3 separate regions of the Homo sapiens genome follow, and all the other regions are linked to region 1. Evidence: promoter capture Hi-C in human tissues and cell types (Jung and others, 2019). All regions are on one chromosome and are shown on one strand. The core of a region is centred on a gene start or on the middle of the fragment in contact, and the rest is flanking DNA. Distances in the headings are between cores, read along the strand shown.

Region 1 (3,557 bases), core at 566-3,065:
GACTCATGGTCATTGTACCCACCCCCACATCTGATTGCTGTACCTGCCTCCAACTGCAGGGCCCTGACTCCTGTCTCCCTCTGATCCATATTCCGCTCTGCTTCCAAGCTCTGGTCTTGGGTACTTTCAACGGTTATTCTGCATTATCCTTAGCTCAGTATCCTTATGGGACAGTCCCAGTCCGCAGGGTAGCCCCGGCTTCTAGGCGGTGGCATCCACATCTGCTCTGCCCGGAGCTGATGCAGGTGCCTCATGGGGGGCGCTCTGGGGACCGCGCAGAAAATTTACGAGCAGTGTGGAAATATACCTGTTGGGTAAAAGACAAACTAGGCGTGTGTTTAAGGCACCAGCAAATGACTATTTAGATTAAGAATTTGTTGTAGAAAATTTTATTGAAGTGATGACTTCCAAATGTGATTTTTGGGGGCATTATACACTTGCTTCGAGGTTTAATCTTCAATCCACATGGCGGGGCACCATAATCTCTGGTGCCCAGGGCCCTCGTCTAGCCCCTGTGAGGCCCTTTGCGGTGCCTCCCTTGCCAGCCCCTCCAGCCTCCGCCGTTTGCCCCCTGGGCTCTCCAGTTTCCACTGCCCCCCTGCCCGAGCGCAGCTCCACTGCTGTGTGACCTGGCGTAAGTCCCTTAACCGCCGTGTGCCTCAGTTTCCTCATTTATTAAAAGAGGAGGTTCCAGTGGTATGTACCCCCTAACGATGTGCGAGCATCACAGAAATGACACGAGACACACACTCAGAACATGCCTTGGCGTGGCAAGTGCTGACTGTTGCCATTATTAGGCTCCCCAGCCGGGGTCTCAGGGCCTTGGCACAAGCTATTCCCTCTGCCTGGAGCACTTTCCTCCACTGACCTTTCCTGGCGCTCCAGGTCAACTCCAGGAGCCTTCCCAGTGCAGTCTAGGTGCCTTCTCCTTCCGCAGCGCCTGAACCACACAGGAATAAGTAAGGCGAGAGCGCGCCCAGGGAAGAGCAGGTGTGCAGAAAGGGACTGAGTCAGTCGAGACGTTTCCGCGGGGATCCTTCTCTTGGCAGGCCTGCACCGGGGCCGTGGGGACTGAGAAGATGTGCACAGGTGGCTCCCGAGTGCTCGGGAAGGGCCCCAGAGCTTCTGGCCCAGCTGGAGGCAGGAGGCGGAGCCTCCTCCGCAAAGCTGGATCAGTACCGGGGACGCAGGGCGCACAGCTAGGGCTGGCGGGGGCGGCCCGACTGGGGCGCTGCCTGGGCTCACGCGGGAGCCAGGTGGGGGACGCAGGGAGAAGCAGCCGAGCAGGTGCCGAGAAGGAGGCGCCCGCAGAAGCGCATGCAGGGGCCACGGGGAAGGCGCCAGGAGGCGGTGAGGGGCCGCGGTGGCCGGAACCCGGGCCGGCTGCTGCGGGCAGAGGAACAGGCCCCACCCGCGGGGCTTGGCTGGCACCGCCCGGCTCTCCAGACGGGGCTACGGCCGCGTGTCGGGCCCGGTGGCGACCACGGCACACCACGGCGAGGCAGCCGGGTGGCACCACTGGCGGGACCGGGACGGCGCCGCGGCCTTAGGATCTCTGCGCCGAGGCCCGCGGCGGGAGCCACGACGGCCCTGACCACGCTGACGCCCAGGCTGCGGGCTCCTCGCCCGGACCAACCGCCAGCCACGCCGAGGTCGCACCTCGGGGTCGCCCCACCCGCAACACCTGCCGCCGCCCGGGGCTCCTAGCGGGCGCGGCCTCCGCGCCCAGGCCCCGCCCCCGCGCCCCCATTGGTCAGTCCCGGGGGTGGGCGGGCGGCACAGACGGCTGAGCCGGGGCAAGGACTCGCGGGAATCGCGCCGCCCGGGTCGCTGCCGGAGCTCGCCGGTCGCCCCTGCGCTGCGCGGACCGCAGCCACAGCCGGACTGGTGGGAACGGCGGCGACAGACGGATTGGCTGACAGTCCCAGCCCTCAGAACAGCCCCGGCCTCGAAGCGTTGGCGTCTGCGTCCGCGTCAGCGTCCGCTTGTCCCGGAGCCGGGGCAGGTGCGCGCGGGGGGCGCTCCAGGGACCGCGCTGAGGCCGCAGACGCCGCCCGCCGAGCCCCGCCCCCTGCTCGCCGAACTCAGCTCCCCGTTCGCCGTCGGGGCGTCCCCGGGCCCAGGGGCGGCGGCGGAGCTGATGTGCGCCCGCTGAGCGCCCCCGGCCCGCCATGGCCGCGCGCCCCGGACCGCTCTGGCTTCTGGGCCTGACGTTGTGCGCGCTGGGCGGGGGCGGCCCCGGCCTGCGACCCCCGCCCGGCTGTCCCCAGCGACGTCTGGGCGCGCGCGAGCGCCGGGACGTGCAGCGCGAGATCCTGGCGGTGCTCGGGCTACCCGGGCGGCCCCGGCCCCGCGCGCCACCCGCCGCCTCCCGGCTGCCCGCGTCCGCGCCGCTCTTCATGCTGGACCTGTACCACGCCATGGCTGGCGACGACGACGAGGACGGCGCGCCCGCGGAGCAGCGCCTGGGCCGCGCCGACCTGGTCATGAGCTTCGTCAACATGGGTGAGTGCGGCCGCCCGCGCGGGGACCCTCGGAGTAAGCTGGCTGCAGGGGAGGGGCGCGCATCCGCGGGCGGTGCCGGGCCCTGGCCGAACGGGGAATCACAGACGGTGGACGCGAACCACAGGGGAGTGGGACCGCCGTGGTTAGGGAAGGTCTAAGGGTCATGGGGGCCCCCTGGGCTGCGGGGTGGTCAGGAGCAGAGTGTGGGGGACTGTGGACTCCCAGGCGCTGCCTTCACCCTGCCCCAGACACACCCAGGAGTAAGAATTAGGTGATGTCTTTGCCCACCTGGGCTGCCCCGGGAAGACAGCCTGGTCCTGGGGAGACAGGTGAGTAAACAGAGGCCGGGATGCTGTCACTGTGATAAGGACAGTACTGAGGAGAGGGACAAAGTTCAGCGTGGAAACCTGTGGTCACATCATCGGAGTGACCAGAGCTGAGTCGCGTGCCCTGAGTCCACAGCAGGCTCTTCCCTGTGCGGAGCCTGGGTGGGGTGCGGCTGTCAGGGGAGCGGCTGGGGAAGGAGCAGACTCAGCTCGCTGGGGCAGGGACTGTGGCCTTGTCACCCTGGGCCCTGCACTTAGCATGTGGCCTGGTATAGGGTGAGTGTCCGGTCCTGTGGAATGGCCCAGTGGGCAGCTGGACCCACTGTGTTCTCCCAGGCAAAGCCGGGCTTTTCCTGTCTGCAAACATCTTGTATCAAACCCTGGAGCTATTTATTCCTTAAGATCTCAGATTTTTCTTTTCCAGTACTAAACTCTTTGGTCTATGCTCGTGTAGTTACTGTTGGTCAGGTCCCCCGTCTGCTTTGCCTCCTGTCTGTGGCTAGTGACAGGCCGGGGTCTGGGAGCCAAGGACCACAGCTCAGCCCGAAGTGGGGGAGCTGTGGGGCTGAGAGCAGGGAGTGGGTACCTGCCCCAGCCACCAGCCTCCCTCCACAGACAGCATCATTAATTCTTCATCCTCCCGACAACCCTGATAACAGCCACGGTCTTCATCCCCATCTCCCAGATGAGGACAGTGAGGTTCAGAGAGGCAGCGCCATGCCTAGG
Region 2 (3,557 bases), core at 453-2,952, 180 kb after region 1:
CCAGCTGGTAGCGCACGTACTCCTCCACGCCCTGCTCCGTGTAGATCTGCTGCTCCTCGTCCATGCGAAACAAGGCTCGGGAGGACACAGCGATGGTGACTGCATTCTGAGGCTTGGGCTGCAGAGGTATGGGAGAAGGGGTTGTCACTCAGATGACTGCCCCTGAGGCAGGCTCACATGTGTGAGTCTCCCTGGGTAGTGAGGACATGGAGAAGACCCAGACCCAGTCTCTACCTAAAGAGGCCCAGCCTTGAGCAGATGTGGACTTAGGTCAGGACCCCATCTATGACGGACCCAGATGGGGGTTGAGAGAGGTGCTGGCTCCCTTGCTGGAAGCACAATCTGATGGAGGGAGGGCCATGCCCTTGGGAGTTTGCAATCTAGCCAGGCATCTGGACACAAGAAAAAAATGAAGCCAATGTATGTGGCCAACGTGTGACTGATGCTGGAGATGATCTCAGTTGGTTTCCATTGTAAAATAAGAGCTGCATGCCCTTAGGAAGAAATGATGCCCATAAATATGACAATTTATATAAAAAATGTATCTGCAACCCAGATCTGTCTCCTGAGCTCCAGATTCATACATCCATCTAACTGCCCCAGTTGACTAACAGCCTCTCAAAGTTAACATTCCCAAGGCTGAATTCCCATCACCTTCTCCCCTCCCAAACCTGATCCCTTCTCCCTGTAACTCATAGCAAGGCTTAGAACCACTATCCACTCATTACTGAAGCAGAAGCTGGGAAGTCAGCCTCAACTCCCTTCCTCATCAATCGATTACCGAAATGAGTCAACTCTACTAGAATCCACCCACTTCTTTCGTTCAGGCCATCATCATCTGTCACATTCTCTAATCTGTCATTCATGCTGCTGTCAGGGGATTTTTCTAAAGTTCAGATCTGACCACAGCCCCCCTCTTTAGTGGTGCACACTATTCTCAGAATATGGCTGGCAGCCTCTAGTGTGGAAATAGAAAGCCCTTCACAACAGACCCCTACTTCTCTTTCCATTCCCCTCTTCCAATCCCCTAGCTTTGCCCCACCTGGGCTTTCTCACATCAGGTCATACTTTCCCCCTCTTTTTTTTTTTTTTTTTTTTCTGAGATGGAGTTTCACTCTTGTTGCCCAGGCTGGAGTGCAGTGGTGTGATCTCAGCTCACTGCAACCTCCACCTCTCAGGTTCGAGCAATTGTCCTGCCTCAGCCTCCCAAGTAGCTGGGACTATAGGTACCCGCCACCCCAGACAGCAGCTGGACCTTTATAGTCCCTAGGGAGGATCAGAATATGAGTGCCCAAGGGATTTACAGATACCCAGAGAATCCCACCACATCTCTGTGTCCTGAGCAGTCCTGGGGTCCTGATTCCCACTTTACAAATTAAAAATGAGGGGCTCAAATTGAGGTCAAGGCTCATAAATGCACCTTGCATTCTTGCCTCTCCTGATCATCCGTGGGTCATGTACTCAACCCCATTTCTTCTTCCTGGGGTCAGTCCTGGGCTCCAATCAGTTGACAACATTGAGTGGTTACCATCTGAGAGACACCGTGGTGGACATGGCAGGAAACAACACAAGTGTGATCCCTGTCCCCATGGAGCTCATGATCCAACCCCAAGACAGAGGCCAATGCCATCTTTTAAAAGAGCAATGTCCAATGGAACTTTCTATGATAATGGAAATATTCCATAATCTGTGCTCTCCCTGTGGCTGTGGAACAATTTGAAATGTGACTAATGAGACTGAGGAGCTGAATTTTAGATTTTACTTCATTTAAATGAACTTAAACAGCTATACGTGGCTAGTGGTAAATGCAGCTTTAGAACCTTATAATAGGAGTGGAAGACAAAAGAGTTCCCCAAGGTCATGTGGTAGACCTCAGTTTGCATTTGACTTTTAACCCCAACCAAGATGGTGTATGTGGCCAGCAAGGTCTGCATAAGGCAGTGGCAGGACAGGTGCTTCTTCTTGGAGGTTCAACCCAAATACCTTTCTCAGTTGCTGACTACCACCATGTGTGTGTCCTAAGGGTGGGGTTGGTGGTGGAGTGGGGAGACCCACTCTCATAAACCCTGGAAGCCTGGAGGCCTTTGGAACAGGAGCTGAGCTTGCTCCACCCACTGGGCTTACTGCCCCAGGGACAGGGCCATCACCCCTCTAAGGACAGAGAGTCAGCTGCCCTCCCAGCCCCATTAGGCAGGTTCCCAAGCCTGCCACTCCAACCCTGGCAGCCAGCTAAGGTCTCGCTCCTCACTTTCTGTCCCACAGTCCCTGCCAGACTGCCAAGTCCTGGGCTCCCTCTGGCTGAGCTACCCAGACAGACCCCAATCCATCCCGCCCCTGGTTGTTGCAAGAAAAACGTCCTGGTTGCATTGGCCCCAAGAGTCCTCTGCTTCTCTCTTTTCCAGATGGGGAAACAGGCCCAGAAAGGGGCCTGTTACTCTAGGTCAAGGCAGAGCAAGATGACATCTCAAGTCTCCGGCCTCTAGCCTGGCCTCTATCCACACTGCAGTCCCCTTGCTATTCCTCTCCTCAACAGTTCCCAGAAGATTCTATCCCTTGCTACTTCCGCCTTCCCTGGAAACATCTCCCCCAGCCTTCACTTTCCAGATTTGGGAGAAATGATCAGGGCGTGCCCACAAACTGAGGTTTCTAACGGCAGGTCTCTGTTTCCCAGCAGAATGGGGGTCCCAAGGGCAGGACTGTGCATCCCCACTTAGACTGCTGTGACACAGTATGAGTGAGGTGGAGTCTAAGATCCCAGAGGCCATGGCTGTGTAAGAAATATGGATCCCAGCTGGGACTGATGAATGACCTGTCCAGGCTCCAGGTGGAGCTGAAGGAGCAGGTGAAATGGGCTGGCCAGAGATAGGGACAAGTTGTGGACATAGAGACCCTCCTGGGCCTGGCCGCAGAGGTGGCCATGTGTTGGCAGGGGCATCTAGGAACAGTTCCTCCAGAGAGCAGAAAGAAGCCCTGATCTCAGACTGGGAATTGGGTCAGAGTGACTCAAGGGCTCACTCTGGGAGCTCTGAGCTCCAGGAAACCAGGGTGCTGGCAGCTCTCTCTGCCTTTCAGGGTCAGGCTGATGGCTCCGGCTAGGGGATGGGAATGGAAGAATAACAGAGTGCAGCCCACCCCCACCTGGACTTCCTGAGGAGCTCCCATTTAGGCTAACGTAATTCTGCCTATTGGGTCCAAGATAGAAACATAGGCAAAAAGCTGTTATTCCCAGTAGGACTTAGAGAGGGAAGGGCTGCTGAAAGAGAGAGGGACAGGAGAGTTTTGGATTGAAGAAGTGTTCTGACCCCATGAGGTGAGGGCCTCCAACAGGCCTTCAGGCGTTAAATATTTTACTCAGGCCCCTGGGAATGAGAATTAGCCCAGGCCAGGCCATGATGGGGCCCATGAGGCCTAGAGCCCCCAAAATAGCCTGTGGGAAGAGGGGCTTCTGCAGGAAGGAATAGGAGCTGGGAAGCCTCCAGGCTTCTTGCCTCCCAGAGAACCATGAGAGTCAGGGGCTGATCCAGGGGTCATGACTGACAACTGGGCCTGAGCTCTCC
Region 3 (3,557 bases), core at 429-2,928, 150 kb after region 1:
GCATCAATTTTGTGCCTCTGATCTATGAAGACCCAATGCCATTGAATTTGAGACCCCGCTCCACCACCACCACGTGGTGCTGTGCCCTTTCCTGGCCCTTAACAGGCACAGGCTAAGATAACTGCTTTTCTAAATAGCAGTTTCTGCTAAACAATTAAGAAAGGCTAATACGTTGCATAGCGAGTTGTGTTATACTCCCTAAAAACAAATGTACAGGCTGCAAGAGGAATATCTATTATGGCATTTTCCTGGGATTTGAGACTGAGGCAGGATCCTTGGATCTCAGAAAACTGGAGAGCACTAAAATTACAAAATGTCCTCAAAAACATCCCTAAGAATTAACTGGGCCTGGCTCACTGGCTTATGTCTGTAATCCCAACACTTTGGGAGGCCAAGGCAGGAGGATCACTTAAGCCCAGGAGATCAAGGTTGCCATGAGCTATGATCATGCCACTGCACTCCAGCATGGGCAACAGAGTGAGACCATGTCAAAAAGAAAGAAAGAAAGAATTAACTGAATTCCCCTCCAATTCTGTTCTAGAGAGTCAAGTCTAGATGAGCCAAGAGAGATGAAGTATATCCCTTTCTTTTCCACTGCTGTCTTTGTTTTACTGATGGGGAAACTGATGACAGACTCTGTCAGGGAAACCAATGGCCCAAGACCACATAGTGAGTTGGTGGCAGATTTGGGGCTGGGACCCAGGTCTGCAGACTCCCAGTCAGCCCTGCAGCTCTTTCAGGGTGCTGGGAATCACATGGTGTGTACCTAGGCATGTGCTGTGCTAAGCCCTTGACATACTTTGCCTCATTTGGTTTTCCCAATATTTCCATGAAGTTGGTTCTATTATTCATGCTCATTTAACAGATAAGGAAACTGAAGCTTAGACAGTTTACAGAACTGCGAGGTAGCAGAACTATACAAGCGCAGTTTGTTCGACAGGTTTGAAGCAGGTCAGACTATCTACCAGGAGCTGAAAGACACTGGCAGTATGGGGGCACGATAGGAGGAACATTGGAATTAGAGTCTAGGCCCTTGCAAGTCGCTTATTATTTTCTTCAATACTAAGTCCCTAAATCCAAACTCCAATTTGCTCAAAGGAGGACAAATTTTCTTCTTCCTGAAATAATTTGTGGACTACATGAAAACTGCATCCAAACTAGGGTAAAATTGGGAAAGGATGGGGTTACTCTGCATCGTCAGCAGATTCCAGACAGGGGCCAGAGTACCATCAGTCTATGAGAGTTTTCTAAGATCTCCAGGGAAAACCTGCCAATGGCCTCCCCTAGGCCACTTCAACAGATAGATGATAACCCACTAGCCACCTGATCCCCCGAGCTGAACTCTCCCTCCCTGCCAGCATCCCCAGCCCTGCACGACCGAGAGCGCGCAGGATCCAGGCACTCGTGCGTGTAACGGCACGGCCCGCACACGCCCCCTACGCCGACACCTGTGGCCCCCGCGCTCACCTGCCTCTGCCCAGGCGGTGCTGGAGGGCTGGCCCGCCTGCTCGGCGAGCCCGTCGGGCCGACCCCCACCCCGCTCGCCCTCCGCCTGCTCGGTCCCCGCATCCCGGCCCTTACCTCAGCTGGCCCTCTTGGCCCACGTCGATGGGTCCGTCGGACTCCCCGTCGGAGCCGCTCGGCTCCTTGGGTCGCTTCATGGCGAACGCAGGCTGCCTGGTCTCAGCCCCGCGGCTAAGGCTCCCAGTCGGGAAGTCAGGCCCCGCCCCGGCCCCGCCCCGGCCCCGCCTCGGGGGCGCCGCCACCGCCCTTTCCCAGGGCCCTTTCCTGCGCCGCAGCTCCGGGCGCCCAGGCGCCCCCTCGCCCCCGCGGTGACGCGCCGCCGAGCCGTGGGAAGGCCCTAGGCGGTCGCCGCCTTCATCGACGGCTGGGAGGTCCGGCTCTGCTCCGCTGTCTCGGCTGCCGCGCGCTGGGTGGCCTTGGGCAGGTGCCCTGGGAGGCCCCGCGGGGAAGCCAGGAGTCCCCGTCTGTCCCTGGGTCGCCTGGGCGCTGCTGGCCTGTAGAGGCGCCGCTTCGATGCCCGGGATTCCGCAAGGGTCAACCCTGCGCGCTCCTGCCTCCTGGTGTTCTGGAGGCAGCAGACACATCAAGTTTGTCGAAGTTAGTCGTGGTGGTTGTGGCCTGATCCTCAGCAAGAATTCCCCAGCAGCAACTCCATAGGGGCCCAAAGCAAGTGGAATAGTGTGGTGGGGGCAAGGGGAAGACACTTACACTTCTGAGAGGTGGCAGTCACCCCCAAAAGGGACGGCTGAAGTTGTGGCCACCGCATCTGAGAAAGCTGGGCTCTGGCCGAGGTCCCTAAAGGCCTGGCGTGGTGGCAGTGGTGGGTTGTCCCTGGGAATCAGTTCCCAGTTCACCAGAGGTCGAGTTGTCCTGGGCGGCCAGGAGGCCAGGAAAGGGCTCCTTCTAGACGCTATGGCAGGGCCTCAAAGTGGGAGAAGGAGAGGAAAAGGGAAGATACCTTCCAGCCTCTCTTCCTGGGGCCTCTGCTTCTGGCAACCCATCAAACTGTTCACTCAGGGAGGGCTCTAGCTGCCCTGTCCTTAGGGGGACTTGTGGGAAGTTCTCAGATTCACCGGTCATCCTCAGGCGCCCAGTACCTCAGAGAAGCTCCTAAGGCTCCAAAGGAAGCTGCATGAGAGCATCCTGGAGCTGGACTTCTTGGGCAGGGAAGAGGAGATAGAGGAGGTCTTGGTGTGCTGGGTTAGATATGAGAGGTCTTTTCCTTTTTACCCGCCACCAGGTCAGGACCTGAGGGAAGCCACCCCTTCAAGTGGGAGAATCGGGTTGGTCATCTGAGAATAACTGTGCTTCCATCCCCACAGCAAGGCCTGCTTGCTGGGGGACACTTGATTACTTGATGGGAAAGAATGTTCCTGTGCCCCCGTCCACACACATCCACAGACACAACCATTTGGCCAGGTATGCAAACACATACACACGGACAGACTTACAAATATATACTGGTAGGCGCAACTGTCGTGAGCAATCAGTACCAGGAAGCCCTGGTGGTCGCCCCAGCCACAACTATGGACTCTCATTCCAAATGCCCTCAGCACTCACATCACTTCTGTGGGCACATGCCAGTCAGTGGAAACCTCAACTAACAGAGAAGTTGCACAATGTGTTATGCATTCCCTGGAAAGGCGGAAGTCAAGGAAGCCTCCCAGATAGCTGCCCTGTGTAATTGGCTGAGATAGCAAAGATTGGAAGAGGAGCAGATTTGCAGGGGAAGGTCAAGGGCCCCGTGATGGACGTTTCATGTGAGATGTCTTGGATCATCAAAATACAGTGCACAGTTAAATAGAGGGTATGGAGTTCAGAACAGAGGTCTCAGCTGGATATTAAATTTGGACGTCATTAGGTAATTGATGGCATTTAAAGCTATGGGAGCAGATGGGATCATTCAGAAAACGTGGATGGAGACAGAGCAGGGGCCTAGCTAAATACTTAACATTTGGTGAGCCCTTATTATAAAACCTGAAACTATTCTAAGTCTTTTGTAAATATTAACTCATTTAATCCTTGACAACCCT

Evidence for each region. Contacts are between HindIII fragments. The study calls those that stand out against the background at their distance.
Region 2: a fragment that was not itself captured here is called in contact with the fragment with the promoter of BMP8A in region 1 in 1 of the 25 tissues and cell types used here (hippocampus).
Region 3: the fragment with the promoter of HEYL here is called in contact with the fragment with the promoter of BMP8A in region 1 in 1 of the 25 tissues and cell types used here (small bowel).

Annotation. Positions count from the first base shown.
Region 1 is chr1:39,489,821-39,493,377 of GRCh38, forward strand. BMP8A (bone morphogenetic protein 8a) reads left to right here and starts at 1,816. Exons shown (of 7, transcript NM_181809.4): 1 at 1,816-2,505. The coding sequence starts at 2,172. It overlaps LOC124904101 (a long non-coding RNA gene), which reads right to left and starts at 1,728. Exons shown (of 2, transcript XR_007065978.1): 1 at 869-1,728; 2 at 1-307. RefSeq lists silencers at 1,315-1,944, 2,045-2,144. The HindIII fragment of the contact is 32,682 bases long and covers 1-3,557 here.
Region 2 is chr1:39,666,119-39,669,675 of GRCh38, forward strand. It overlaps NT5C1A (5'-nucleotidase, cytosolic IA), which reads right to left. Exons shown (of 6, transcript NM_032526.3): 2 at 1-118. Among named protein-coding and RNA genes, the nearest start is that of NT5C1A, 4.2 kb to the right of the region's middle. The HindIII fragment of the contact is 5,410 bases long and covers 1-3,557 here.
Region 3 is chr1:39,637,965-39,641,521 of GRCh38, forward strand. It overlaps HEYL (hes related family bHLH transcription factor with YRPW motif like), which reads right to left and starts at 1,679. Exons shown (of 5, transcript NM_014571.4): 1 at 1,582-1,679. The coding sequence starts at 1,661. RefSeq lists silencers at 1,456-1,525, 1,646-2,035. The HindIII fragment of the contact is 11,489 bases long and covers 1-3,557 here.